Linked DNA regions of Homo sapiens: regions 2, 3 and 4 are each linked to region 1. The links are contacts of gene promoters, found by promoter capture Hi-C in human tissues and cell types (Jung and others, 2019). All regions are on one chromosome and are shown on one strand. The core of a region is centred on a gene start or on the middle of the fragment in contact, and the rest is flanking DNA. Distances in the headings are between cores, read along the strand shown. Region 1 holds the start of NT5C1A (5'-nucleotidase, cytosolic IA). Region 2 has its middle 20 kb from the start of MACF1. Region 3 overlaps MACF1 (microtubule actin crosslinking factor 1). Region 4 overlaps LOC105378669 (a long non-coding RNA gene).

Evidence for each region. Contacts are between HindIII fragments. The study calls those that stand out against the background at their distance.
Region 2: a contact is called between a fragment that was not itself captured here and the fragment with the promoter of NT5C1A in region 1, in 1 of the 25 tissues and cell types used here (lymphoblastoid cells).
Region 3: a contact is called between a fragment that was not itself captured here and the fragment with the promoter of NT5C1A in region 1, in 2 of the 25 tissues and cell types used here (dorsolateral prefrontal cortex and lymphoblastoid cells).
Region 4: a contact is called between a fragment that was not itself captured here and the fragment with the promoter of NT5C1A in region 1, in 1 of the 25 tissues and cell types used here (lymphoblastoid cells).

The regions. Positions count from the first base shown.
Region 1 is chr1:39,669,277-39,676,564 of GRCh38, reverse strand. NT5C1A (5'-nucleotidase, cytosolic IA) reads left to right here and starts at 4,458. Exons shown (of 6, transcript NM_032526.3): 1 at 4,458-4,661. The coding sequence starts at 4,527. RefSeq lists a silencer at 4,266-4,675. The HindIII fragment of the contact is 3,595 bases long and covers 2,445-6,039 here.
Region 2 is chr1:39,181,338-39,188,625 of GRCh38, reverse strand. It overlaps a transcript of MACF1 not described here. Among named protein-coding and RNA genes, the nearest start is that of MACF1, 20 kb to the left of the region's middle. RefSeq lists enhancers at 4,017-4,530, 4,507-4,776, 4,531-5,045, 4,286-5,485. The HindIII fragment of the contact is 7,790 bases long and covers 1-7,288 here.
Region 3 is chr1:39,274,330-39,281,617 of GRCh38, reverse strand. The region is part of intron 6 of MACF1 (microtubule actin crosslinking factor 1); the gene reads right to left. Among named protein-coding and RNA genes, the nearest start is that of MACF1, 73 kb to the right of the region's middle. The HindIII fragment of the contact is 3,769 bases long and covers 1,094-4,862 here.
Region 4 is chr1:40,020,971-40,028,258 of GRCh38, reverse strand. The region is part of intron 2 of LOC105378669 (a long non-coding RNA gene); the gene reads left to right. Among named protein-coding and RNA genes, the nearest start is that of CAP1, 16 kb to the left of the region's middle. The HindIII fragment of the contact is 3,453 bases long and covers 2,057-5,509 here.

The DNA.
Region 1 (7,288 bases), core at 3,209-5,708:
ACACAGTCCCTCACAATCAACAAACACTTCCCATGTGATCTGCTGTTGGCTGAGCCAAGCACACATTTAAGTCTTTTTTTTTCTTTTTCTTTTTCTTTCCTTTTTTTTTTTTTTTTTTTGAGACAGAGTTTCGCTCTTGTTGCCCAGGCTGGAGTGCAGTGGCACGATCTCAGCCCACCTCAACCTCCGCCTCCCGGGTTCAAGCAATTCTCCTGCCTCAGCCTCCCGAGTAGCTGGGATTACAGGCATGCGCCACCATGCCCAGCTAATTTTGTATTTTTAGTAGAGATGGGGTTTCTCCATGTTGGTCAGGCTGGTCGCGAACTGCCGACCTGTGGTGATCCACCCGCCTCGGTCTCCCAAAGTTCTGGGATTACAGGCATGAGCCACCGTGCCCGGCCATGTCATTTTTTTTTTTTTTTTTTTAAAGACAAGGAAACAAAGGCCCAGAAAATGGTAAAGCTGGGACTTGATCTCAGGTCTCCTAACATCAAGGCCACTGCTTGTTGTGCCTTCTCAGCCACGGGAGTGAATCCAAGTCAGAATGTGAAAAGAGATTAAAAAAAAAACCGGCTGGGCACGGTGGGTCACACCTGTAATCCCAGCACTTTGGGAGGCCGAGGCGGGTGGATCATGAGGTCAGGAGATCGAGACCATCCTGGCTAATACGGTGAAACCCCGTCTCTACTAAAAATACAAAAAAATTAGCCAGGCATGGTGGCGGGCGCCTGTAGTCCCAGCTACTCAGGAGGCTGAGGCAGGAGAATGGCGTGAACCCGGGAGGCGGAGCTTGCAGTGAGCCGAGATCGTGCCACTGCACTCCAGCCTGGGCAACAGTGCAAGACTCTGTCTCAAAACAAAAACAAAAACAAAAACAAAAAACCCATGAGCTCTGAGCTTCAGAGGAGGAAGCGTCTTACCTGACTGGGGAGAGGTGAGGAATAGGTAAAGAGCAAAGGGCAGCCATGGCTTCATGGAGGAGGTGGCATCTGCCCCAGGTCTTACTAAACATTAGCCAACAGGGCCAGGCATGCTGGAGCAGGGCTCTCCAAGGGAACAGCCAGGTGTGGGGCTCCTGGAGTCATGCCCTACAGGGTCTGTTCCCAGCTTATTCATCTGAAGAAGTGCTGGACCTGGAGGCAAAGTCCTGGCTGGAGTCCAGAAACCCTGAGCCAGGGAAGCCCTGCACCCAGCCAGCTATTAGCAAGTGACAGGCAAGCCAGAGAGCATGGCCAGAAGCCTGGAAGGGTGGAAAGAACAGTTAAGGATCAAGTTCTCTAATCCTTCCAAAGAAGGATCTGGGGAAAGTTCTTTTTTTTTTTTAAGACAGAGTCTCGCTCTGTCACCCAGGCTGGCACGCAGTGGCACGATGATCTCGGCTCACTGCAACCTCTGCCTCCCGGGTTCAGGCAATTCTCCTGCCTCAGCCTCCTGAGTAGCTGGGATTACAGGCGCACCCCACCACACCCAGTTTTAATTTTTGTATTTTTAGTAGAGATGGAGTTTCACCATGTTGGTCAGGCTGGTCTTGAACTCCTGACCTTGTGATCCACCCACCTCGGCCTCCCAAAGTGCTAGGATTACAGGCATGAGCCACCGCACCCGGCCCGGGGAAAGTTCTTAAAGGGACTGAACCAGGAGTCTGGGCAGGATTCCTTGATGGCAAGGAACAGTGCCTACTCATGGCAGGGTGAGTAAAGGGGAATGGATTAGTTGGGACTTTTGGTTGCAAGTGAACGAAATCCAACTCACACAAGCTTAAGCAAAAAGGGAGGCTTATTGGCTCATGTAATTGGGAAGTTCAGGCATGGCTGGGTCCAGAAACTCAGTTGCATCCTCTCTCCCTCCCTCCTTCTGCTTCTCTCTCTGTGGCACCATTGTCCTTCCAGATGTGCTTCTTCCATGTTCTTTCACCTGCCAAATGGGTTCCCAGCTCACATTGCCCCAAATTAACAACCTCAGAGAAAAAGAGCCAAATCTCCCAGAAGCCCTAAATAAGAGTGAAGAGTGTCTCAGCTGGGGTCACATGCTCATCCTTGTGTCCAGGGACACAGGGCTCCGCCATTGGTCAGGTCTCAGTTACAGGTCTCTGTACCAGGTCTGGTACTTCTTGACCAGAAAACCAGGGAGGCAGGGCTTTTTATTAGAAAGAGAGGCCGGGAAAAGTGGCCACTCAAGCAAAACCACAATCCACCAAATTTCCTTTTGGGGGCATTTGTTGAAACAATGTGGAGAATCTCATGAAAGTGTAGAGATGGGCACCAGAGCCAGGCCTTAGCTAGAACTTGGGAAACTGTCAGGAGCAGAGGCGGCTCCATCTCAGGGCAGCATGGTTTCTCTCATGTGCTGCTCTCTGCACATCCTTTCCCATCTTGATCTGCTGCTCATCTCATTCTGCTCAGAGAGTCTCCACCTGCGCCGAGCTTTACTTTGCATATAACTGCAGTCTGCTGAGGCTCACCCAGGTCTCTTCGGAGCCAACTGTATTTCACAGCATCCTCAGCTTCTATTCCAATGGTTGACTGCCCAGCCCATTTCCCAATTCCAAATTCCTGAGAAAGACAAATCTGCTTGGCCCAGGTCATCTTTTCAAGCCAATCACACAGATTAAAGGCCGCTGGACAGCATGGGGGTGGCTCACTTTTGTGTGAAGTGCCCACCTCCATCCAAGTAACCACTCTATGTATTCTTCCTGAGTTACTTCATCATTCTTCTCCATGAGGCACCTGAGAATAATTGACCTCATTCCTAGAGTTTCAATTATTTATTGCAGTGTAACAAGCTACCCCAAAACTTGGTGCCTGAAACAACAATTTATTATTTTTGATGATTCTGTGAGTTGGCTGGGCTCAGCTGGAAGGTTTTACTGCTTCAGGTTGTGTTGGCTGGCGTCACCCACATAGCTGCACTCCACTGGGAGCTGAGCTGGGGCTGGGACAGCCAGGATGGCCTCATTCACATGTCTGTCAATTGTGCCTATAGTCACCTGGGCTGTCGCTAGCTTCTTATCCTCCAGGTCCTATCTGTCTCACTACGTGGCCTTTCCAGCAGGATAGTCCAGACTTATTTACATAGTAGCTGGCTCCCAAGAGGGCAAAAATGGAATCTGCAAGGCCTCTTAAGACGTAAGCTTGGAAACCACAGAGCACCACTTCTACTCCATTCAATTGGTCAAAGCAAGTCACAGGGCCAGCTCAGACTGGACTCCACCTCTGAATGGGAGGAATGTCAAAGTCACATTTCCAAAGGACAGGCAGGATGGAAGAGGTTTTTGGGCCATCTCTGGAAACAATCTTCTAGAAGTAAGTCTAAACACACTTCCCCCAATCCTAACATTTTATTATGATTTTTCCCTTCCTCCCACACAAGGGTTGGTTTATTCCTCCCAGGACCTGGTGGAGGCTGAGGGGATCACTCCATTCTGTAGCCCCCTCACCTCCCCAGTCAGAGGCCCTCCTAGCTAAGCCAGTGTTTTCTCCTGCTTCTCCCACCCACCCATGCACACCTCTGAGAGAGGCTGTCTGCTTCCTGGCCTGTACCTTGGGATGGGTGACATTTGTGTCTGCACCCTGAGACTAGTACAGAGCTCTGCATCAAGAGGGACAACACCCTGGAATTCCAGGATGGTAGTTCCGAGGCCCCTCTTCTGCCCTCCCTCTATCCAGCCCCTTCATGGCCTATAACAAATCACCCCAAGCTGGGCAGGTGGGGGCCTAGGAATGCGCGCCCTCTGCTGACCACCAAAGGGCCAGCAAGAATTCGGGTTCAGAGTCCCTGGGAGTCTCTCTGGCCTGGGTCCCCACCCCAGGCCAAGGTCTCGACCTGAGACCACCCGAGCCTGGTCTCAACATGGACTTCAAGGGCCCCTCCTAGGTGGTGTGGAGGAGCTGCCGGGTTGGGCCCTTCACTGAGCTCCCGCTGGGAGCAGGCTTCTGCTAGTGAGAGGAGCCATCCATGCATCACCTCCTGCCCGTCTGCCGGATGGACTGGCCTCGGAGGGAAGGGGACATCGTCAGGATCCCAGGGTCCTAGCTCCTAAAGGAAAGATGGGCAGCTAGCTTTTGGGAGGGGAGCGGCTAGCTTTTCATTTTGTCCTTTGGGGATCACTATCCTGGGGGAAAAAAAAAGTTGTCAGGCCTCTCCTGTCTCCGCGCCCTGCAGCGCCTGCGAAGAACATCATTTTCGCAATCCCCAATCCGCTGCAGCCCACAAACCCAGAGAGCCAGAGAGCCCCCCTCACCACCCAACCGGCTGCTGGCGTGGGTCGGTCGGGGAAGGAGAGCCCAGCTATCCCTCATACCGTACAGCAGTAGCAGCAGCAGCGGCAGCGACACACGGGCGACCGAGAGGGCCAGTGTGACCTCCCCCCGCCCGGCGGGCGGGGAGCCCAGCTCACACGCACAGCCTCCTCGCCGCTGCCCGCCCCCTTCCCTCGCCGGGACTCGCCTCCCTCCTGCAGCCCAGCCCCAGCCACCTCCGCGTCTACGCCGCCGCCTGCTCTGGCCGGGCCGGGTCAGAGCCGGAGCATGGAACCTGGGCAGCCCCGGGAGCCCCAGGAGCCCCGCGAGCCCGGGCCAGGAGCGGAGACCGCTGCGGCCCCGGTCTGGGAGGAAGCCAAGATTTTCTACGACAACCTCGCGCCCAAGAAGAAACCCAAATCGGTAAAAGCAATGCACGGGTATGCGGGGGACGGGGGAAGGGTTACCCCGGAGGAGGGGTCATAAGTCTCTTGGGAAGGGACCCGTGGCGCCCCTCTGGGAGGGGACGCAGCTCCTCAGCCCCAGAATGCGCCCTGCAGCTGGCGCGGGCTCGGGTTTATTTTGGGAGCTCTGCTCTGGTGTATTTTTTTACCGGGACTCGGGTTCCACGCCAGGCTCCCCCTCCCCCATGCTGTCATCAGGGCCCAGCTAGAGGCCCGCAGCCCCAGCCCCTCCCCACTCGGGCCGCCGGGGAGCGCGGATTGCACTTGTTGGCGAAGCTGGTCCGCAGCGCTTCCAGAAGCGCCCCAGGCGCGGGTAACCAGACTTTGGGAACCCGGTTCCTGGCTGTGCGCTCCGGTCTCCGCCATCTGGGCATCGGGCTCCGGACCTGAGACTCTGCGTTTGGGGTCTGGCTCTGGGTCCTGGGCCCTGGGCTGGGGGCAGTGCGCTCCCCGCGTCCTAAGGAAAGGGAGCTGCTCTCTCCAGGCACTGGGATCCACACTCTGCGCTGGGGGGCGATCGGCGCCCCTGGCCGCAGGCTCCCAGCGCTGGACTCTGCCCCCCAGCTCGGGTTCTGCTCCCCTTGCAGTGGGCATTAACATCCCCACGACCCTGTGGTGGTGTCAACCGTCTGGGACCTCACAGAGGAGCTCTCTCCTCTCTGCCATCAAACAAGTTGATGATGCCCTGGTCTGCCCCTGGACCTTGCTGTCTCCAACTTCCCAGATCTCAGAGCTTGAGGAGAAAACCGAGAATAGAGGTTGGCCCACAGCGGTCCTCCAAAGAGCTCCAGCTTGATCTTAAAGCAATTTGCTGCTTCCCTCCAAGAACCCTTCCCCAACAGGTCCACCCTATCAGCAATCATTCAATTAGCACCTCCAAGCTCTGCTCAAGAGTGGGGATTGAAGAATTAAATAACCTGAGTCCCTGCCTCAGGAGCTCACTGCACAATGATGGAGGCTCCAGAGATGAGAGCCTAGGGGAGTTGGGGGGGGAGTAGAGTAGTGACATCACACTGGGGAAAGCTTTGTAGAAGTGGCACGTATCCTGATCTTAAAGCCTGAGTAGGTGGAGTTTCCCAGGGAGAGGGAAACAGGACAGGCAAAAGTCATGCAGATGTCTCTGAAGCTCAGGACTGTGTTCCTGAATAAGTACTGAATGAAGAATGCAGGATTGTTGGAAGAAGAGCTGGAGGGATGTGGAAGAGCCCACAGAGGGCCTTGGGGATCATGTTAAGGAGTCTGGACCTTACTCAAGGGGGTCAGGGATTTCCAAACTAGCTTCCCCAAGCCCCATGTTTCAGGGAGTCTGCACACATGTGAATCCAATTTATTTTCTTTCTTCTTCGGACTATGTTTTAAACAATTAAAAATGTGTAATAAAACCCAACTCACTCTAATGTATTAGGTGGACATTTTAGCAGCTTGAAGGCCACTAGCTTGTGCTGCAGATTTTTTTAAAGCAAAGCTCAGAATAAGGCTTCCCCTGTGATCTGTTCCATCAAAGAGCGTCTTGAGATTGTAAGGCCTTTAGTTTAAAACAAACCAAAACAAAAAACCTTTTAGCATTTCCAACCACTTATTGGTCTGAATCAGGACTTTCTCAATACTGTACAAATACAAACACAGCAACAACTTGGCCGGATGCTGAAGCTTAAGTCTGCACTGGCATTCTAGCCGCTAGTTTCAAATTTGTTGTCATGCAAACAACTGTGTTGTTTTCATTGGTTGACTTTATAATAAATAAATAAATAAATGTAATGCATTTGAATCTGTAAAATAAATAAACACCAATTATATATGTTATATCTGGTACCATATGGTATGAGATATATGGTAATATCTGGCTTACATATTGAATTCAAAGTTTATTTGAATTCATTTAAATAAAAGGTCAACCTACATTTAAACAAACATATGAATACCATTATGGAGCTATTACAGGATTTTTCATCAGGGGATTAACTGGGTCCCATTTTTATTTTAGAAAGATCACTCTGGGATGGATTGGAAAGGGTGAGTCCGGCAGCAAACCCACCAGTGAGAAGGCTGGTGCCTCTCTGAAGAGGAAGCTGGATGAATGTCAATGCTGTGGCCTGAGTGATGCAGAAGAAGGGATGGAGACTGGGGACTGGGGCAGTGAAAGCATCAGTGCTCAAAATCCATTTCCTCCCCAGGCACCAAGGAACCGGAGAGCTCAGGCCCAGTTGTCAGTCATGACCCCTGGATCAGCCCCTGACTCTCATGGTTCTCTGGGAGGCAAGAAGCCTGGAGGCTTCCCAGCTCCTATTCCTTCCTGCAGAAGCCCCTCTTCCCACAGGCTATTTTGGGGGCTCTAGGCCTCATGGGCCCCATCATGGCCTGGCCTGGGCTAATTCTCATTCCCAGGGGCCTGAGTAAAATATTTAACGCCTGAAGGCCTGTTGGAGGCCCTCACCTCATGGGGTCAGAACACTTCTTCAATCCAAAACTCTCCTGTCCCTCTCTCTTTCAGCAGCCCTTCCCTCTCTAAGTCCTACTGGGAATAACAGCTTTTTGCCTATGTTTCTATCTTGGACCCAATAGGCAGAATTACGTTAGCCTAAATGG
Region 2 (7,288 bases), core at 2,187-4,686, 490 kb after region 1:
ATAAACTTTGACAATGAACGATGAGGCCCTTCCAGACTGGCCAATTGCTCCACTTGGCCCAGAGCTCTAGCTACCAGAATTGGCCCCCAGATGGGAGACTGGCCAGTCTTTCCTGGGGAAACCAACCTCCTCTACCTGGTTATTCATTAGGAGTATACCAGTTAACGAGTCCCACCAATCAGCATTTTAGGGCCCAGCTCTTTCTTTTTTTATTTTTGGAGACAGGGTCTCACTCTGTTGCCCAAGCTGGAGTGTAGTGGCGCAGTCTCAGCTTACTACAGCTTCAACCTCCGGGGCTCAAGCAATCTGCCCACCTCAGCCTCCATGCGCCACCACATCCAGCTCATTTTTGTAATTTTTTGTACAGATGGGGTTGCCCAGGCTAGTCTTGAACTCCTGGGCTCAAGCAATCCACCTGCCTCGGCCTCCCAAAGTGCTGGGATTATAGGTGTGAGCCACTGTGCCTGGCCAGGGCCCAAGTCTTAAATGTGAAGATCACCAAGAAACATCAGACATTTTAAGAGAACTTCTAACATGAAAGACAGAGACCAAAATAAATAGAAGGAGCTCAGAAGAAACAGAGACAATGCTGGATGCAGAGGAAAAAAGAAAAGAAAGGGAAGGGAAGGGGAGGGGAGGGGAGGGGAGAGGAGGGGAGAGGAGGGGAGGGAAGGGAAGGGAAGGGAAGGGAAAGGGGAAAGAAGGAAGGAAGGAAGGAGAGAGGAGAGAGAGAGAGAGAGAGACAGAGAGAGAGAGAGACAGAGAGAGAGAGAGAGAAAGACAGCCTCTAATTAATATCCTTAGAGAGACTTAAAAGGCAGTATTAGCCAGACAATTGCTTGAAGCCAGGAGTTTGAGGCCAGCTTGGGCAACATAGCGAGATCTCATTTCTACAAAAAAATTTTAAATAATTTTTTAAAAAATCTGCTAGAAAGTGATTTGCAACCTAGAACTCTATACTCAAACTCTTAATCAAATGAAAAGTAGAATAAGACATTTTCAGATAAGCAAAGTCTCAAAAACATTTACCTCCCTTGTATCCTTTCTCAGGAAGCTAGGATATACCACAATGAAAAAATGGAGTACATCATGAAATACGACATCAGCTCTGGGAAACATGAAATCCAACAGGGAAGACAGGTGAGGGAATTTCCCCGTATGATAGTGAAGGGAAGTGCCAGGATGACAGCTTTACTAAAGGCTTTAAGAGCAACCCATCCAGAGTGAATAAGAGAAAGCTCCTGGGGGATGTCTCCAAATAGACTATTGAACTAAAAGATTATTTGATATGTTTCAACATACTGAGAGAGAAGTCTTAGAGTCCCATGAGAGAGTCTGAAGGTATGTACATAGATCAGTAAACAAGTGACAAAATATGGCAATTATTAATTCCAGGAAAAATTAAAAGTTGGTCCAAAAAGGAAATGTAATCATAGTATATTACATAGCTCACCTTTAAGCAATATTTATATAATCACAATAATCTGAACACTGAATATAACGGCAATAACGTGTGACTTTGGGAAGAAGGGGGAAGAGAAAGTGTGTACGTTAAGGGGGTAAGAATAAAAAAACTAAACCCTAATTTTCTGTAGTAGAATATCAACAGATAATGTTCAAAACCAAAAAAAAAAAAAAATCAAGAATCACTAGTAAAAGAGAAAGAAATATATTCTGGCTGTTTGTGTGTGCAGAAAAAAAAGAAACAGAAATGTGGCCCAGGTGTGGGGGCCCACACCTGCAATCCCAGCACTCTGGGAGGCCAAGGTAGGAGCATCATTTGAGGCCAGGAGTTTGAGACTAGCCTGGAGAACAAAACAAGACCCCCAACTCTACAAAAAGAAAAAAAAATTAGCCAGGCGCAGTGGTACACACCTATAGTCTAAGCTACTCAGGAAGCTGAGGTGGGAAGATCCCTTGAGCCCAGGAGTTCAAGGGTGCAGTGAGCCATGATCACACCACTGCACTCCAGCCTGGGTGGAAGAGTGAGACCCTGTCTCTTAAAAAAAAATAGTGGAAAATACAGATTATTTTTGTCATATGCCTTATAGTAATATTTTAACCTTTTAAAGTAAGAACATGTATAATTTTGATTTAATGTTATAGAAAGTTGGACTGGATTATGAAAGATCTTAAATGACAAGATGAGTTTGGATTTTATCCTATAGGTGAGCCCCTAAAAAAGTCATTTCTAGGCCGGGCGTGGTGGCGCGTGCCTGTAATCCCAGCTACTCGGGAGGCTGAGGCAGGAGAATCATTTGAACCAGGGAGTTGGTGGTTGCAGTGAGCCGAGCATGCCACGGCACTCCAGCCTGGTGACAGAGTGAGACTCTGTCTCAAATTAAAAAAAAAAAAAAGTCATTTCACCCCCCACCAAAACACACACACACACACACACACACACACACACAGAGAGAGAGAGAGAGAGAGAGAGAGAGAGAGAGAGAGAGAGAGATGTTCAGAATCCCAGCCCCCACATGGATTCCCTTAACATTCTGGAATCTGGTTAATTGGGTTTCAGATATTTCTCCCTTATCCACTCCTCTACCTCATGATTAAAGGCCTTTAGCTCATAACCAAAGGGAGAGAGGACCTGTATATATTATGTGGCAGGTACGAGTCTTGGGCTCAGACTCATCTGACAACGAGTCAGGTGGTGACTTCTGAAACAGCATCACCACAGATTACCCTCAGGGGGCTCCCAAATCAAATACACCCTAGGGAACTTTCTTCCCTGGGTCCTTCAGCACTTCAGGTTAAAAATCTCTTCTAATGATTTGTTATTTCATGAAGAGATACAGGGAGATGGCTGCTAGCAGGGAGGAGGAATATTGCTAACTAAGCCCCCGGAAAGTCCAGCACCCTTCTCTAAGAAGTAAGTTATCTGACTCATTTCCTTCTTATCCTACTCCAAAGATCTGTTTACATCCTACAGTGTACCTAGTAATATTGTCTAAAAACAAAACTCATGATCAGCCAGAAGAACGTAACAATTAAAGACTGTGTCAAGAAATAAATAAAGCTTTCCTTCCTCCCTTTCAAATTATAGTTGTTGTTTTTTAACTTTTCCTTCTTGCTTCTGATATATCTTGGGTTTATTTAAAAAAAAAATTTTTTTTTTTAAAGAAACTGGGCCTCTATGCTGTCCAGGCTGGAGTACAGTGACTACACAGGCACAATCATGGCACTATTCTATAGCCTTGAACTCCTGGGCTCAAGCAATCCTCCTGCCTTAGCCTCCCGAGTAGCTAGAACTACAGGTGTGAGCTACCATGCCCAGCTCTTCTGATATATCTTTTTCTTTTCTTTTTCCTTTTTTGTTTTTTTTTTTTTTGAGACGGAGTCTCGCTCTGTCGCCCAGGCTGGAGTGCAGTGGTGCCATGTCGGCTCACTGCAAGCTCCACCTCCCAGGTACATGCCATTCTCCTGCCTCAGCCTCCCGTGTAGCTGGGACTACAGGCACCCGCCACCACGCCCAGCTAATTTTTTTGTATTTTTAGTAGAGATGGGGTTTCACCGTGTTAGCCAGGATGGTCTCGATCTCCTGACCTCGTGATCCACCTGCCTCGGCCTCCCAAAGTGCTGGGATTACAGGCGTGTGCCACCACGCCCAGCACCAGCCCTGATACATCTTAAAGAGAGGTAGTATCTTCTACTTTTTTGGTGGTGTCCTATGCAGCCTAAAAGTCCCTTTTTCCAGGCCATCTTCAGATGAACGAGTTATAAGCACAAAGGCAGCAATTGATATTGCTAAGCCATCTCTCCTAAGACCTTCCTTGAGAGGCCTGAAACCTGAGGCAGAATATTATCAATGCTAGCCTCTCTTTTATCTTTGTGTAAATGGCTAATTTAGCCTCCAACCTCATAATCACACAGACTCTGGTAGGTGCATGATGATGACCAGGAGCACTCTTTCACAATCTTAATATAAATAACAGCCTGAATAACCTAACCAACTTTACTGCTTTGCGATATGAAAAGATACTAAGACTTATCCTGACTGAAACTCTCCATCCCGCCACCACACTCCGCCTCACCTTATCAGCTTCAACCATACAACACCATTGGAGGGCCCTCTACTCAAAGAAGAAAAACACCACCACCACAAGACTTAACTGGGCTTTGAGCAAAGATCTAGCTCTTGCCAAAATACTAGATGGAACTAGGGTACTTTTGGCAATAAGGTAAAAAATTCTGAGATCTGACCTTCTGATGTCAAGGCAAGTTCCCCTCTCTAAATATGTCAGAGGAAATGTCATGCCTTCAAACCAGCCAGTATGACCATGTGAGGCTCATTTCCAAGACACAGACCCTGCTAGCTATAGAACTGAGGCACACAGTGCAGGAACCCACACACGCCGCCCTGCATGAAAAAGAAGTCCATGACTAGCACAGGATGTTGTGAGCCATCTCACCCAGATACAAACACAGTATACCCAAGACATGCATAGACTCAACCATATGCTCTGAGGGCACATGAACAGCACTGCCCACACCAGGGCTCATGAAATAGGAACTAAAAAACAGGTGATGTTTCCTGTGATTTATGCTGGTCAATCATTCTGACTGCCCAGGCAGCCACACCATTTAATATCTTCCAGCAGCTCAATCAAGGTTCCTGTCTCCACCTGCTCCTGTGACATCATCCTGTCATTATATGTTCTTTGAAATTCCTTTGATGAAAAATGAGTCACTTCTTCCTGCCAACACAGGCCTGAGCCTCTTCCACACATGTCATTCTTTGGTAATCCTGTGGGGGCAGGGTGCCACCCAGAGGTTTCTGCAGCTACTCTCGCTATACCTCCCAAGAAAGAAGGCCTCAGAGCAAGATCAAACATAGCCTGGGGAAAAATGGGCAAATGATGAAAGAAGTGAGGATCTTGGTGGAGCTGGGTATGGGGCTGGGAAACTGCCTACTCCAGTGTGACACACAGTTTAAAGGATGAAGTAAGAACTAAGGTAGGGCACAGTCCCACTTAAAACTTGGAAATGCTTCAACTTCAGAGTGCTCACCTTAAAAGTTCGCTTCCTGATATAAAGTGCCATCATGTATTCTCCTGCAAAAAAATGATTGCAAACCTGTTTCTCACCTTGAAGATTTGGGGCAACAGTAACTTGCCTGCTCAAGACAGTGACAGTTCTGAAGCAAAATATTCAAGACAACTTCAAGATTCTCAGTGGCAGCAATAAGGGGCCCAATACAAACAGACAAATACTATTCATACCTACAAATCAGCCTAATATTTTTATAACAGCTTCACTGAGATTTGGTTAACATAAATTCACCCTTTTTAGGTAAACAATTCAATGGATATTTAAGTATCAGTATGTTCACAGAGTTGTTCAACCATCACCATTATCTAACTTTAGAACATTCCATCACCCCCTGAAGAAACCCTATATCAATTAGCAGTCACTTCCCATTCGCCCCTCCTCAACCCCTAGCAACCACTAATCTACTTATGGTCTCTATGGATTTGCCTATTATGTATAAATGGTATAAATGGAATCATACAAGCCTTTTGTGTCTGGCTTCTTTCACTTAGTCTAATGTTCTCAAGGTTGATCCATGTTAGCATCAATCAGTACTTCATTCCTTTTCACTGACAAATAATATTCTGTTGTATGGATATGCCACAGTGTGTTTATCCATTCATCAGTTGATAGATGTTTCAGCTGTTTCTGCTTTGGGGCTACTATGAATAATGCTGCTATGAACATTTATGTACGAGTTTTCTATGAATATATGTTTTCTATATTCTATGAATATAATATTTCTTTTGGATATATACTTTGGAATTGCTGGGTCATGTGGCAACTCTACTTTTTGAAGAACCACCAAACTGTTTTCTAAAGCAGGTGCACCATTTTATATTCCCACCAGCAATGTTGGGGGTGTTCCAATTTCTCCACATCCTCACTCTCTTTTTTATTAAAGCCATTCTAGTGGGTATGAAGTGGTATCTCATTGTGATCTTGATTAGCATTTCCATAATAACTAATGATGTTAAGCATCTAAGCATCTTTTCATGTGCTTATTAGCCATTTGTATATCTTCTTTGAAGAAATGGCTATATAAATCCTTTGCCCATTTTTTTATTGGGTTTTCTTTTTACTGTTGAGTTCAAAGAATTCTTTATATATTTTGGATATAAGTCCCTTATTAGATATATGATTTGCAAATATTTTCTCCCATTCTGTGAGGTGTCTTCATTTTCTAGGTAGTGTCCTTTGAAGCACAAAGGTTTTACATTTTGATCAAGTATAATTTCTCTATTTTTTTCTTTTTTGTGTATACTTTCAGTGTTAGCTACAAGAAACCACTACCTAATCCAAGGTCACAAAGATTTACCCCTAAGTTTTCTTCTAATAGTTTTGTAATTTTAGCTCTTATATGTAGGTCTATGTTCCACTTTGAGTTAAGTTTTATATGTTGTGTGAGGTCAGGGTTTAAATTCTTTTTTTTTTTTTTTTTAAGGTGGAGTCTTGCTCTGTTGCCCAGGCTGGAGTGCAATGGCGTCATCTCAGCTCACTGCAACCTCTGCCTCCCGGGTTCAAGCGATTCTCCTGCCTCAGCCTCCCGAGTAGCTGGGATTACAGGTGCCCGCCACCACATCCAGCTAATTTTTGTATTTTTAGTAGAAATGGGGTTTCACAATGTTGGCCAGGCTGGTCTCGAACTCCTGATCTCGTGATCCACCTACCTCTGCCTGCTAAAGTGCTGGGATTATGGGCGTGAGCCACAACGCCTGGCCAATTTCATTCTTTTGTATATGGATATCCAGTTGTCCCAGTATAATTTGTTGAAAAGACAATTCTTTCTACATTGAATTGTCTTGGCACCTTTATCACAAATCAATTTACCATAAATGTAAGGGTTTATTTTTAGACTCTCAATTCTATTCCATTGATCTATATGTCTATCCCTATGCCAGTACCATCCTGTCTTAATTACTGTAGCTTTGTAGTAAGTTTTCAAATCTGGAAGTGTGAGTCCTCCAATTTTGTTCTTTTTCAAGATTGTTTTGACTATTCTGGGTCCCTTGCATTTTCACATGAATTTCAGGAGCAGCTTGCCAATTTCTGGAAGAAGAGGAGGAGGAGGAAGAGGAAGACGAAGAATAAGAGGAAGAGGAGGAGGAGGAGAAGAAAGAAGAAGAAAAAACCCCACTGGGATTCTGACAGGGATTGCATTGAATCTATAGATCAGTTTGGGGAGTGCTGCCATCTTAACAATATTAAGTCTTCCAATGCATGAACGTATAAAGTAAAAGGCAATGTGAGCCAC
Region 3 (7,288 bases), core at 1,729-4,228, 390 kb after region 1:
TCATGAGGCTGAGGTGGGAGGATCACTTGAAGCCGAGAGATCAAGACTGCAGTGAAGTATGATCATGCCACAACACTGCAGCCTGAGTGACAGAGTGAGACTCCATCTCAAAAAAGTAAATAAAAAAGTTTTACAAAGAAAATTTTAATGACATAGGACAATGATTACCAAATTTAAGAAAAAGAATATAAACAAAATAATATAGTAATCTTGATTATTTTGTATAAAAGACATACAAAATATACATTTAAGTATACAGTCATATATATGTACAAGGCATACACACGCACCTATGTATGCAATACAGGTGCAAATACTGTACGTATGTGAGAAATACAGCAAACTAATAATCATAGTTACCTCTATGGAGTAACATTACAGGGGATTTTTATATTTTCCAAATATTCTGCATCCTGTACATTTTTATAATAAGAAAAAAGCTATTTTAAGAAATCTCCAAAATACAGCACAAGACCTATTTTAGGGAGATCATAATGCAGGTGAGGAAAAAGTGCATGTCTCATGTGTGCAAAGTGGGACTAATACCACCTTTTCAGGGTTGCTGTGATAATCAGCGAGATTACACATTAAAGCACCTAACCCAAACTCAGGGTTATGCTCAACAAATAAGGGTTCCCTTATCTCTTCCTTATTTGAAGGCTGGTCTTCCTTCGATTCTTACTTGTCTAACTCCCACAGCACTGACAGTCTGTATCATCATCTAATTAAATGTTATTTTGGGCTGTGTGCAGTGGCTCACGCCTGTAATCCCAGCTCTTTGGGAGGCTGAGGCAGGCAGATCACCTGAGGTCAGGAGTTTGAGACCAGCCTGGCCGACATGGTGAAACCCCATCTCTACTAAAAATATAAAAATTAACCAGGCATGGTGGCACGCACCTGTAGTCCTAGCTACTTGGGAGGCTGAGGCACGAGAATCGCTTGAACCCAGGAGGTGGAGGTTGTGGTGAGCTGAAATTGTGCCACTGCACCCTAGCCTGGGCGACAGAGTGAGACTCTGTCTCAAAAACATAAAAATAAATAAATAAATAAATGTTATTTTGCATTATGGACTATTATTTCATATATTTAATCTTATCTCCCCTAGACTGCACGTTTCCTGAGGGGGGCTGGCACCACATCTTAACAACCAGAGCAATATAAAACTGAACAGCAAACCCTATGTGGGAGAGCTCCTCGCCACTGGACGTGTCAAGCAGAAACTAAGATGCTGTGAACGAAATAACTTCCAAATCTGAGAATCATTGATCACAGTCCTTTGGTGCATTGCCCATTGCACTTAGTGTTGTGCTGGTTGTATGGTGGGACCTTAACATGTTTTAATTAATAATAACTTGGTTTATGAATGAAATAATAAAAATAAAATGAAATAATAAAAATAAGCAAATAAAAGTATTTTGGGGGCTGGGCACAGTGGCTCACACCTATAATCCCAACATTTTGGGAGGCCGAGGCAGGTGGATCACCTGAGGTCAGGAGTTCGAGACCACTCCCGCCTAGGTGACAGAGCGGGACTCTGTCTCAAAAAAAAAAAGTATTCTGGCATAAAGCCCACCTAGAATCTGTAGACAGGTTACTTAGCTAATTCAAAGCACTGTGTAAAGTAAACAAGTTTATATTTGTCTCCTCTGGAGTGGGACTATGAATGACTTTAGTTTTTCTTCCTACTCTTCTTTTTTTCAGACTTCGAGTAATGACCACACTTTATTTTTATAATAAAAAGTATAAAAACAATCCTTGTTAACAAGGAAAAATGTTAAGCCTTTCATTCAGACAGATATGTGTTTGAAAGAAGGCATTTACTAGAAATGTGACCTCAGGCAAACCATGTAAGCCTCCTGGCCCAATTTTCCCCATATTTAAAATAGGATAATAACTTTCTCAAAGGATCATTATAAGGATTAAATAAGATGATGTAGATAGTGCCGAGGGTACATGTATTCCCTTCCCATAATAATAAGACAGCATACCCAACACAATTTTTGGTCTGGGTGTTGGGGCAGAGAAAACACCGGCATGTCAATAGAACATCCTGTCTCTTAGTCGTCTCTATCAGGTGCAGTACCATGAAAGTAGTAGCTTCCCTTGTGATCAATACAAGGGAGAAGTCAATAATAAGTCATCTCCAAGTGTCTGAATTTACAAACTCATAATAGATGAGATTAAATATCAGATGATATTTTAAAATTGGAAAAAAAAAAGGGCCAGGAACTTTAACACTATATTTAGAATAAAAGAAAGCTGCAGGCTACTAAATATTACTAAGATGTCTGAAGAAAGACCGTGAGAATAGAAGAGTATGGGAAGCTTGCATTGAGTACAGAAAAGGGAAGCCAGGAAGTACTGCCTCCATGCCTGTGAAGGTGAAACTGTACCCTACCCAGCAGATTCAAGGGACATAGGATCTTATGCCCTTGACAGGTACATTTCTACAGAAGAAATCAGACTATTCTACTTTGATGATGCCAGCTAATAAGCCCATCCTACAAATCATTCCTCTACTCACCACCTCTCTGCTCTGACTGCATGTTCACCTGACAACCTTCAGATTATTATTTGCTTCCCATATAGATATTCTAAAGCAACAAAAGCAGTAAGTGGCCAATTCAAATTCTTGAATCACTTGGCAGTTAAAATTTATTTTGTAAATTAATAAATTCACATAGACCAATCTCAAGCAAATGTGATCAGTGTGAGTCAGTTTACTAAAACTATTAATCAACTCCAGATCTACCTGGGGCTGGGGGAGGGGCGGTAGTGGGGAGAGAAGCTATGGAGCTGCAGAGCCAAGGACACAATAATGGATCACGGCTCTTCCTATAAACAGCTTCTTCCTAGTACCAATTCTATTTCAGTTCCCCTTAACATTTCTAGCTACCTATTTCACTGGCTAAATGCAACATTGATATATCCCACTGCCTTCACTGTAGCTGCTTCACGTACATATTAAAGTAAAACATTATTGGGAACAGGAAATAGATTTGTTGATGTAAAACAAGACAGAACTTGAATAAGCAAAACAAAATCTGAGTATTTGGGTTCTTCACCCAAAAATGAAATTCCAGTTAGTTAATTGATATTGTATGTTCATTACAGCCATAATCTTTCTAATAACATCTCTCATTTCTTAGTATTTCTGTATATTGCACTAAAACTACTTCAATGAACAGCTTTACTTCAGATTTTAAACATAGTTGTAATGAGATAGATGTTTGGATCCCTAAGGGAAAGAAAAATAAAATACCTGTTTGGATTAGGGCCATTACCTAGACTGGAAACTGGATGAGAAAAATGGGATTATCATCACAACCATCTCAGTAATTAAATTTGGCTTTCATCAATCTCTTTCTGTATACTCACACATGATATGTGTGCACAGTACTGTGCTCTGGGCTATGCAGAAGCTTTTACCTTAATCTCCCAAATGCAGAAATCCAGCTTTAGTTTCAGAGATCTTTCTCCCTCATCTGGGCTTTTTAAGGAGGAAGCCATTTGGAGAGGGAGAACAGCCTCAACAGTATGCCTGAGAATATGCAAATTCCACTTGAATTTCCTTTCATCTCACACTTCCCAAAGCTTGGTTAATTGCTTCTCTGAAGTATTCCCAGAAGCTGAATGTTTTCCTAATAATTCAATAAGTATTGACTGAACAACATCTTAGCACTATGACTGGCACCATGGAGAAGAACAAGAAAAGACACACCACTTACTTATACTGTTAATATTTTTTGAGCAACCATTATATTCTAGGAGCTGTGCTTAAATTCTTGATATCTCAAAATAAAAAAACACAGCCTCAGGCCTCAAGTTCAAGCAATTTAATCAGGGAGACAATTTACTATACAAAGAGATCAATGTTGTGACAGAGGTAAGCAAGTAATCCAAACTAGCAATGCCAGAGGATTGCTCAGCAACAACAACATCTGTGCTGAGTTTTAATAAGTAGAAGTTGGCCAGGTAAAAAGGTGGAAAACAAAAAAAGAAGACATGCTTGGCCTGCAAGAACTTAGTTGAGACATGCCATAACTAACATATGATTATCCCAAATATTTTCCCAGATAACAACAGATGTATGAAGGTAAAACAGGAATACAGGAAGGGAAGCTCTGTAGTCCTCCTGAATACCCAAACTTTTAGAAATTTATTTACACATATACACATATTTAAAATTAAGCAGTATATTTAAGCATTTAGTATTAATGTATTTTCTGCCTTTGTAATTTCAAAAAACTGTATTATTCAAACTTCACATGCATCTTTAACATCAATGTTTTTTCCTTCAATAAAGCTATCTTTTTAGTGAATTTTCTAGAAAATACTGTCTACTTTTCTAAGATTTTAAAGTTAATAACAGCACTTTTCTGAATCTACATTGTCTCTGGGTATTTCATTTCAAACCACAAGAGTCCAGTTACATAACACTGGATTAGGGTTTTTTTTTTTTTTCATTCATTCTGCTGTGTTTATTTGTGATCCCCATAATGTATGTGTATGTTTCATATGCAATGTGAGTGATTCAAAAAAAAATTTTAATGTTAAGGCTTGTATACAATTACTTTCAACACTTCAAATTAGGAGATTATATTCCCAGGAACAATAACTAAAACTTTCTTAGATTTTTCATTCCTCTTTTTTGTTTAATCAATTATGTCAGTTGATCTCTACAAAAAAATGATAGTGATTGAACTAGCAGATGGTGACATAGATTTATTCACCCTTTTTCATGAACTGACTATAAGCTCCCTGGAAGCCTAATAACAAGAAATGCTTTATAAGAAGTAAAATATAAAGAGAATATCTCTTTTCTGAAGGTTAATTTCTGGACGAAAAAAATCTCATATCTATGGTAGGTCACATGAAATAGTTAAACAAATTTATAGCCAAAAACGACCAATAATTATAGTAATATCCAATACAGAATCTCAGCAGAATGGAAAATTACTGTGGGCTGGAGGATTTCTAGAAGTACCATATAAACTCATCCTTGAAGGGTGTTACAGAACAGGTGAAAGCCAAGGAAGAAAGGAATTCCACGTAGAAAGTGGATGTAAACAAACTGAGATAAGGTGAAACAGAAATAGTAGTTAAGGGACTGATCTGTTAAAATGAGAAGGTTTAAATTGGGAACCGATAGAAAAGATAAGATAGATTACAAAGGAACTGGTAATCTATCTTATCTTTATCCCAGCTGAGGAGTTTCGACTTGGTATCTTATCTTATCCCAGCTGAGGAGTTTGGACTTGGTAAGTCTCTCAGTGGATGAGACGAGTTGTTCTGAGCAAGTAAGTACTTGATTATTATGTCCTCAAGTTTCTAGCTGACCTCATCACCCACTAAAGATAAAGCATCAGACCTTGAAAACTTTCAAGAAGCAAATGAGGGCTGGGTGCAGTGGCTCACTCCTGTAATCCCACCACTTTGGGAGGCATAGGCAAGAGGATCACTTGAGCCCAGGAGTTCAAGACGAGCCTGGGAAACACTGTGAGAAATTGTCTCTACAAAAAATTTAAAAATTAGCTGGGTGTGGTGGTACTCCCCTGTAGTGCCAGCTACTTGGCAAGTTGAGGCACGAGGATCGTTTAAGCCCAAGATGTCAAGGTTGCAGTGAGCTATGATTGCACCACTGCTCTCCAGCCAGGTGTCAGAGCAAGATTCTTTCTCAAAAAAAAAAAAAGAAGAAGAAGAAGCAGATGAAGGCACAATGCAGTGGTTCTACAAATGCCCAGCTAGAGGGATCTAATGGCAGCTATGTTGGTGAGGAACAGAGATAAAGAAGGTGTTTATTACCAATATTAGAGTTAGGTAAAAGGGAGTGCTCCTTTCAGTATTCACATTCAGAGTCCTGGAGGTCTCACTAGGGAATATAATTAGAATGGAAACCCTAGGTAATAGAACATGGGCATTTTTCAACTCTACAAAATATTGTCAAACTACTTTCTAAAGAACAGTAGCAAATTATACTTCCACTTAAGTGCTATGAAGAGGTTTTCCCATCACTCTTCATCCTCGCCTACACTTGGTATTTTCAGAATTTTTACCTTCTGCCAATCTGATGGGTATAAAATGGTATCTTAGCTAGGCATGGTGGTGTGCTTGCAGTCCCAGCTACAAGCTTGAGTCCAGGAGTTTATGGCTACTGTGCGCTATGATGGTACCTGTGAATCGCCACTGCTCTCTAGCCTGGGCAACATAGCTGAGACCTCATCTCTTTAAAAAAAATTACAGGCGCAGTGGCTCACACCGTAATTCCAGCACTTTGGGAGGCAGAGGCGGGCGGGTCACGAAGTCAAGAGATCAAGACCATCCTGGCTAACACAGTGAAACCCCGTCTCTACTAAAAATACAAAAACAAAATTAACCGGGCATGGCGGCGGGCGCCTGTAGTCCCAGCTACTCGGGAGGCTGAGGCGGGAGAATGGCGTGAACCTGGGAGATGGAACTTGCAGCGAGCCGAGATCGCGCCACTGCACTCCAGCCTGGGCGACAGAGCGAGACTCTGTCTCAAAAAAAAAAAAAAAAAGTATCTTATTGTTGTTTGATCTGTATATCCTTATTAGTAAAAAGGAGTCTTCTTATGTATATGAGGCATTTGGATTTCCTTTTTTTGTGAATTGCTTATTCCTGGGCTTTCCCCTATTTTTCTACAAGGGTGTTTGTCTTTTTCTTATTCATTTTCTTGTTCTTTTAAGTAATAATATTAACTAGCATTTATTGTGATTACTTGTATTAATTCATATTATTCTCACAACAACCCTACCAAGCATATGCTATTCTTATCTTCCATTTACAAATAAGGAAATTGTAGCACAGAGAAGTTTAGTAACCTGTTCCAAGTTATACTGCTAGTAAGTTGCAGAATTGGGATTCAAACCTAGCCAATCTGGCTCCATGCTCTTAATCACTTTATCTATAGGATAGTAACCCCTTTTCAGTAGTCATCCATGGAGAATTGGTTCTAGGACCTCCCTCAGATACCAAAATCCGCAGATACTGAAATCCACAAATGCTCAAGTCCCAGATACAAAATGAGGTAGTATTCACATACAACCTGTGTACATCCTCCCAGCTACTTTAAATAATCTCTAGATTACTTATAATTCCTAATACAATGTAAATGTTAGTAAATAGTTGTTATCTTGTTTAGGGAATAATGAAGTCTGTACATGTTCATTACAGATGCAATGTTTTTCTTCAGAATATTTTCCATCCGTTATGGGTTGAATCCCCAGACGCAGAACCCACAATGCAGAGAGCCAACTGTATATGTATT
Region 4 (7,288 bases), core at 2,534-5,033, 350 kb before region 1:
AAAGGCTAGAGTTGCTCTACAGTTGCTCCCATGGCTAGAGTTGCTCTAGAGTTGCTCCCCTTCAAAACAAGGGAAAATGGGAGGCATACAGCAGAGACAACTCTGAAATCCAACTGATGTAGGTTGATTAGAGCTTAGTCCAATTGCCGGAGAGTTGTTCATTGTGGTTTCAGCTCCAATATCTGGGCTCTTGGTTACACTCTGAATCATCCTTCCTTTTCTATAAGAAAATTGAGTTTGTATCTGAGTAGCCTTCTCAGCCTGATTCCTCCCTATAAAAGGCATCTTTCCATTTTGTACTGTCTATGTCCCCATTAGTCCTAGCTGATAGATGCTTCTGCCAGAGCAATTCTCTTAGAAGCTTTGTGGGTTCCTTATGCATGAATTTATTATCCACTCCAACAAAAGCTACTCTCATAAATCTCTTTGAGATAAGCACTTCCTTCCCTTGAGAGACTGCTCCAAAATGTCCTTAAGATCTTTGGAGAGACTTTTTTTTCTATCAGATGGATTCTATAAAGCATCCTATAAAGCATTCTATAAAGGTCTTAACCTTTAACTTCTTTTTTAGATAATATTTTCCTGACAGTGTCTTGGATTTTACTTCTGCCCAGAGCCATTTCTTAACTTTAGAATCATTTACCATCTGGAGAGGCTGACAGTGAAAACAGTTTTATTTTCAAGCCAAGCCAAGTAAGTCCTGGTCCTAGATATAGATATGTGTGTGTGTGTGTGTGTGTATATATATATATATATATACACACACATATATATACACACATATATATACACATATATATACACATATATATATACACACACATATATATCAGCTTTATTGAGATATAATCCACATACCATACAAGTCTCCCATTTAAAACATACAATTCGATGTTTTTAGTATATTCACAGAGTTGTACAACTTTTACCATGATCAATCTTAGAACATTTTTATCACCCCAAAAAGGGACCTGGTACCCATTAATGGTCATACTCTGTCCCCCCTCACCCCTGCCACCTCTGTCTTAGTCTGTTTGTGCTGCTACAACAAAATACATGAGACTGAATAATTTATAAATAGTAGACATTTCTCACAGTTCTAGAGGCTTGGAAGTCCAAGATCAAAGCACTGGTGTTTGGCATCAGGTGAGGACCTTCTCACATGGCAGAAGAGATGGAACCCACCAACTCAAGCCCTTTTATAAGGGCCTTAATGCCATCCATGAGGGCTCGGCCCTTATTAGTCATCTCCTAAAGGCCCCACCTCTTAATACTATTACATTGGTGATTCAGTATCAACATATGAATCTTGGGGACACATTCAGAACACAGCACCCCACAACTCTCCCTGCCCAACCATAGGCAATCACTAATCTACTTGTCTCTATAGATTTGCCTATTCTGGGCATTTCATATGTTAAATAAAATGTATGGTCAGGCACAGTGGCTCACCTACCCAGCTAATTTTTTAAATTATCTGTAGAGATGAGGTCTTACTATGTTGCCCCGGGTGGTCTTGGGCTCAAGCAATCCTCCCTCCTCAGCCTCTCAAAGTGGTAGGATTACAGGTGTGAGCCACTGCACCCAGTCTTATAAATTGATTTTTTTTTTTTTTAAAAAAAGACAACTCAACCATCTGCAACAATAGGGGCTATGGTTCATCCCCCTAACCTCACTCATTCAGGTTTCTCCTCAGGAAGAGAGGCCTGTGAGAGCTGTAGAGGAACTTCTCTCCAATGATGTGGGGCAGGTGGATCTTGGCAGTGCAAGGGATGGGCTATGTGACCAAGGGGTGGACTGTGTGCACAATGTCTTACATCCACCTTCACAAAGAGAATCTGCTGTGAGGTGTAGAGGTAACTGCCGTACCTCTGGGATTTGCCACAGCATTCTTGCCAAGGCACGCTTTCCCTGGATTCATCCCAGCCAATGACCGAGCTCCAGGGCATACTACAGCTGGGCCATTTCTGCCTTATGTGGGACTCCTTCACTGGGCAATCAGCCTGGCCAAGAGTTTTTTCAGAGCTGCACTAACACTCGGAGCCTCTTCCTACCCAATCCTCCTTCTTTCCTTCTCTCCTCTCACGGGTGTCAGTCCTGCACCATGGCCTGAAGATTCTCCCTGTCTACTCCTGCTGCTTCTTATCTTTTCACTGCCATTTTCCACTTGAACTTTTTTCTTTTCTTTTTTTAGAGGCAGAGCCTTACTCTGTCACCCAGGCTGGAGTGCAGTGGCTCAATTATATCTCATTGTAACCTCGAACTCCTGGGCTCAAGCCGCCTCCCGTCCTCAGCCTCAATCTCTTGAGTAACTATCTGCCTTGAACTTGTGAGAGGACTCAAATTTATGCAGCTTTTAGCTGTTTCTAAGAAAAAGTTTGGTATGGGTGCTACCATAATGAAAGCCTAAAATGTGGAATTGGCTTTGAAACCACCTGGCTGACTGAGGCTGGAAGGACATTGAGGTGTGGCATGGTGGCTCACGCCTGTAATCCCAGCACTTTGGGAGGCTGAGACAGGTGGATCACCTGAGGTCAGGAGTTCAAGACCACCCTGGCCAATATGATGAAACCCTGTCTCTACTGAAAATAAAAAAATTAGCCGGGCGTGGTGGCAGGCACCTGTAATCCCAGCTACTCAGGAGGCTGAGACACGAGAATTGCTTGAACCTGGGGGACAGAGGTTGCAGTGAGCTGAGACTGCACCACTGCACTCCAGCCTGGGCAACAGAGTGAGACTCCATCTCAATAAATAAATTAATTAATTAAAATTTACAGGAGGCCATTGATTTGGACTAGGCTCCTGCACTCAGCCTAACAGACCAAACCAATGGAGTTTAACTACAGTGACTGAGCTGGGATTATAGGCATGCACCACCACACCCAGCTAATTTTTGTATTTTTAGTAGCGATGGGGGTTTCACCATGCTAGCCAGGCTGGTCTTGAACTCCTCACCTCAGGCGTTCCACCTGCCTTGGCCTCCCAAAGTGCTGGGATTACAGGCATGAGCCACTGCACCCAGCCTATTTTCTACATGATTTTGCAATGGCTTTCCAGCTTAAAATTTAGAGTCAATTTGTTCATATAAAGAGGATATCAAGTACCAATATCCTAAAATATTGACAAACTATTAAGTGTAAAACTCCCCCAAATTCAGTTTAATATGAAACATACTACATGTATCATAGAATTTTCAAATATCTCATGTCACATTAATAAAGAAAGGAAAAATTGGGTTACTGTTGCCAAAGATGTCACAGATAGTATAGAATTCTGACAGACAGGTCCAAGACAGGGAAGCAGTTTAAAACAAAACAAAACAAACAAACAAAACAGGTTTGACTTAATAGGTTATACTTAGAAAATGTTAGCCAATATTAGAGTACATATATTTTTGTCAAGAATTTCCATGGAGCTTTTATAAATATTGACCATGCTCCAGGTTACAAAACGAGTCTCAAACACCAAAGAATCAGTATACTTACCGCATTGGGTGTCTCATTATAACTGGAGGACAGTAAGAACAGTAACAGCAACACCTTAAAATACCCTGTATGTTGGAAAAACTTTAAATATAGTTACTGCTAAACTGATCAAAGAAGACACCATACAAGAAAGTATCAGAAAATACTTAGAACTGAATGATTTTAAGAGTGCTATATTGAAATTTATAGGATGTACTTAAGGAGAAATGCATAGCCTTAAGTGCTTATATTAGAAAAAAAGATAGGCTGGAATTTAAAGAGCTAAGCTTTAAAGTCAAGATGTTAGACAAAAATCAACAAAGAAAGCAGAAGTGGCCAGGCATAGTGGCTCACACCTGTAATCTCACCACTTTGGAGGCCAAGGCAGGAGAACTGCTTGAGGCCAGGAGTTCGAGACCAGCCTGGGCAGCATAGCGAGACCCCCAATCTCTAGAAAAAAATTTAAAAATTAGCCAGGCATGGTGTCTCAGTCTTTGCTACTTAGGAGACTGAAGCAAGAGGATCACTTGAGCCCAGGAGATCAAGTCTGAAGCGAGCCGTCATCACGTCACTGCACTCTAGCCTGGCAACAGAGCAAGACCCCATCTCTAAATAAATAAATAAAACAAAAAAAAAAAAAAAGGAAAGAAAGTAGAAGTAATGAGATAATAAAAATGAGAGGAGAAAAAACAACAGGAGAAACTAAGCAGAAAACAAATATATGTGATAAAAGAGATTGACATAACCAAATGTTGGTTCTTTGAGAAAAGTAATAAAATAGACAAACCGCTGGTGAAATGATGAAGAAAAGTACAAAAAAAAAAGAAGTAAAAAAGAGGACATACTACAAGTACAGCAGACACTGATGATATACATATTTAAAGACTGTCTACCGCAGCCTGCCCTCTGGCCAACACCATTCACGTCCATTCCATGTGCAAAATATACTCACTCTCCTCCCAGGACCCCCAAAGTCTCATCCCACATGGTATCAGCTTGAAGTTCACAGTCTCATTACCTAAATGAGGTCTAGCTGCAGATGAAGCTCTTCAGGCGTACTTCCTTGAGTGTGGGTTCCTCTTGATATGAAGACCTGTGAAATACAGTCAAGTCATCTGTAACACAAACACAACATCCAATAGTCATATGAGGATAGGAAAACTGCAATAAATGCTCCCATTCAAAAGGGATGAACAGGAGGCACATAACAGTCAGTGTTCCATAGTAATTCTGAAATCCCAGATTTCAGAATGCACATTTCCATGTCCTTAACTGGGACCCAATCCTGCTCCTTGGGAGTGATTCTCTGTGGTTCTGAGTTCTGCCTTCTGGACTCTTGGCTCTTCACTTTGAATCATCATTCCGTTTCCAGAAAAAAAGTCTTATATTTGCTGCTGTGTAGCTTTTGAAGCCTGCTTCTTGCCCATAGGAAGTTCTGAGTTCCAAGGGTTTTTTTTCATTTTAAACTATTCTTTTTAGTTGAAGCTGATGGTGCTTCTACATATGCAATTCTCTTAAATTATTATGAGTTTCCTATGAATCTTATTTGAGTTCTTGAAAGCCAAAGTCACAAATGTTTTCAAGATAGGTCCTTCTCTGCCATAGTCTGAGATTCAGTGTGCTATAGGAAACATCCTTAATATTCTTTTTTTTTTTTTTTGAGATGGAGTCTTACTCTTGTCTCCTAGGCTGGAGTGCAATAGCGCGACCTCAGCTCACTGCAACCTCTTCCTCCCGGGTTCAAGTGATTCTTCTGCCTCAGCCTCCCAAGTAGCTGGGATCACAGGCACCCCCATGTAGTTAGCTCCTGCCACCATGCCCAGCTAATTTTTGTATTTTTAGTAGAGATAGGGTTTCATTATATTGGCCAGGCTGGTCCTGAACTCCTGACCTCAGGTGATCCGCCTGTCTCGGCCTCTCAAAGTGCTGGGATTACAGGCGTGAGCCACCACACCTGACCAAGATTCTTAAAAGAGTAGAAAAAGAGTCTATGAAGCATTCTAACATTCTTAGTAGCCCCTCATTTACTTGAGAACATCTAACAGATGCTTAAAACTTAAAACTTTCTAAAGTCTTAAAAAGTCTTACAGCTGCACTCTTGACTTCATCTTAATACTGTTCTTCCAGGCCGGGCGCGGTGGCTCACGCCTGTAATCCCAGCACTTTGGGAGGCCGAGGCGGGTGGATCATGAGGTCAGGAGATTGAGACCATCCTGGCTAACAAGGTGAAACCCCGTCTCTACTAAAAATACAAAAAAAAATTAGCCGGGCGCGGTGGCGGGCGCCTGTAGTCCCAGCTACTCGGGAGGCTGAGGCAGGAGAATGGCGTGAACCCGGGAAGCAGAGCTTGCAGTGAGCCGAGATTGCGCCACTGCAGTCCGCAGTCCGGCCTGGGCGACAGAGCGAGACTCCGTCTCAAAAAAAAAAAAAAAAAAAAAAAAAAAATACTGTTCTTCCTTTGAAAAACTTCTATTTTATTTTAAATTTTTATTTATTTATTTTTTAGATGGAGTCTCGCTCTGTCACCCAGGCTGGAGTGCAGTGGCAGGATCTCAGCTCACTGCAACCTCTGCCTCCCGGGTTCAAGCGATTCTCCTGCCTCAGCCTCCTGAGTAGCTGAGATTACAGGCACATACCACCATGCCTGGCTAATTTTTGTATTTTTAGTAGAGATGGGTTTTCACCGTATTAGCCAGGATGGTCTCCATCTTCTGACCACGTGAATCCCCCCGCCTTAGTCCCCCAAAGTGCTGGGATTACAGGCGAGAGCCACCGTGCCCTGCCCCTTTGAAAAACTTTTGATGGCTAAAAAGATTGTCCTGAGCACTTTATATACCCTCTAAATTCTTCTAGAAAGCAGAATCATTTCCTTGTTAGATTATCTTTCTCTTCTTGTACCTTACCATTGACTGCTAAAAGACACCAGTCGGCACTTTGAACATTCCACCTAGAAATCTCCTTAGCCAAATTCACCAGTACATTAAGTATACTTTCTATTTTATGTTTTACCACAGGTGACATTCTTCAAAACATTTTGCTACTACATAAAAATAGTTGCTTTTTCTCCAGCCTCCAATAACAATTTCCTCCAATAACAGTTTCCTTCAAATCTTCACTAACAGTCTCCTAAGGCCCTTCAGCTTCCAACAACTACCTGGTCCTAGGTCACTGTCCCATGTTTTAGGTTTTTGTCACAGCAGCATAACACTACTTGTATCAATTTCTATTCCAGTTACCTATTATTACCTTGGTGCAAAAGTAATTGTGGGTTTTGTCATTAGTTTATTATTATTATTATTATTTTTGAGACAGAGTCTCGTTCTTTGGCCCAGGTTGGAGTGCAGTGGTGTAATCTCGGCCCACTGCAACCTCCACCTCCAGGGTTCAAGCAATTCTCCTGCCTCAGCCTCCCAAGTAACTGGAATTACACATGCCCCCCAACCATGCCCAGCTAATTTTTATATTTTTAGTAGAGACAGGGTTTCACCATGTTGGCCAGGCTGGTCTTGAACTCCTGACCTCAGGTGATCCACCCGTCTTGGCCTCCCAAAATGCTGGGATTACAGGTGTGAGCCACAGCATCGGCAGGTTTTTGTCATTACTTTTAACGGCAAAACCCGCAATAACTTTTGCACCAACCTAATACTATTATAATAACAATCTATACCCAACTTCGTGACTTAAAACAATGATTTATTATCTCTCATGCTCAGTGGGTTGACTGAAGTCAGCTGAGCAGTCCTCACTTGGGGTCTCATGTGATTAGCATTTGAAGGTGGCTGGGGCTGGAGCCATCTGAAAGCTTCACTGGGCTGGATATCCAG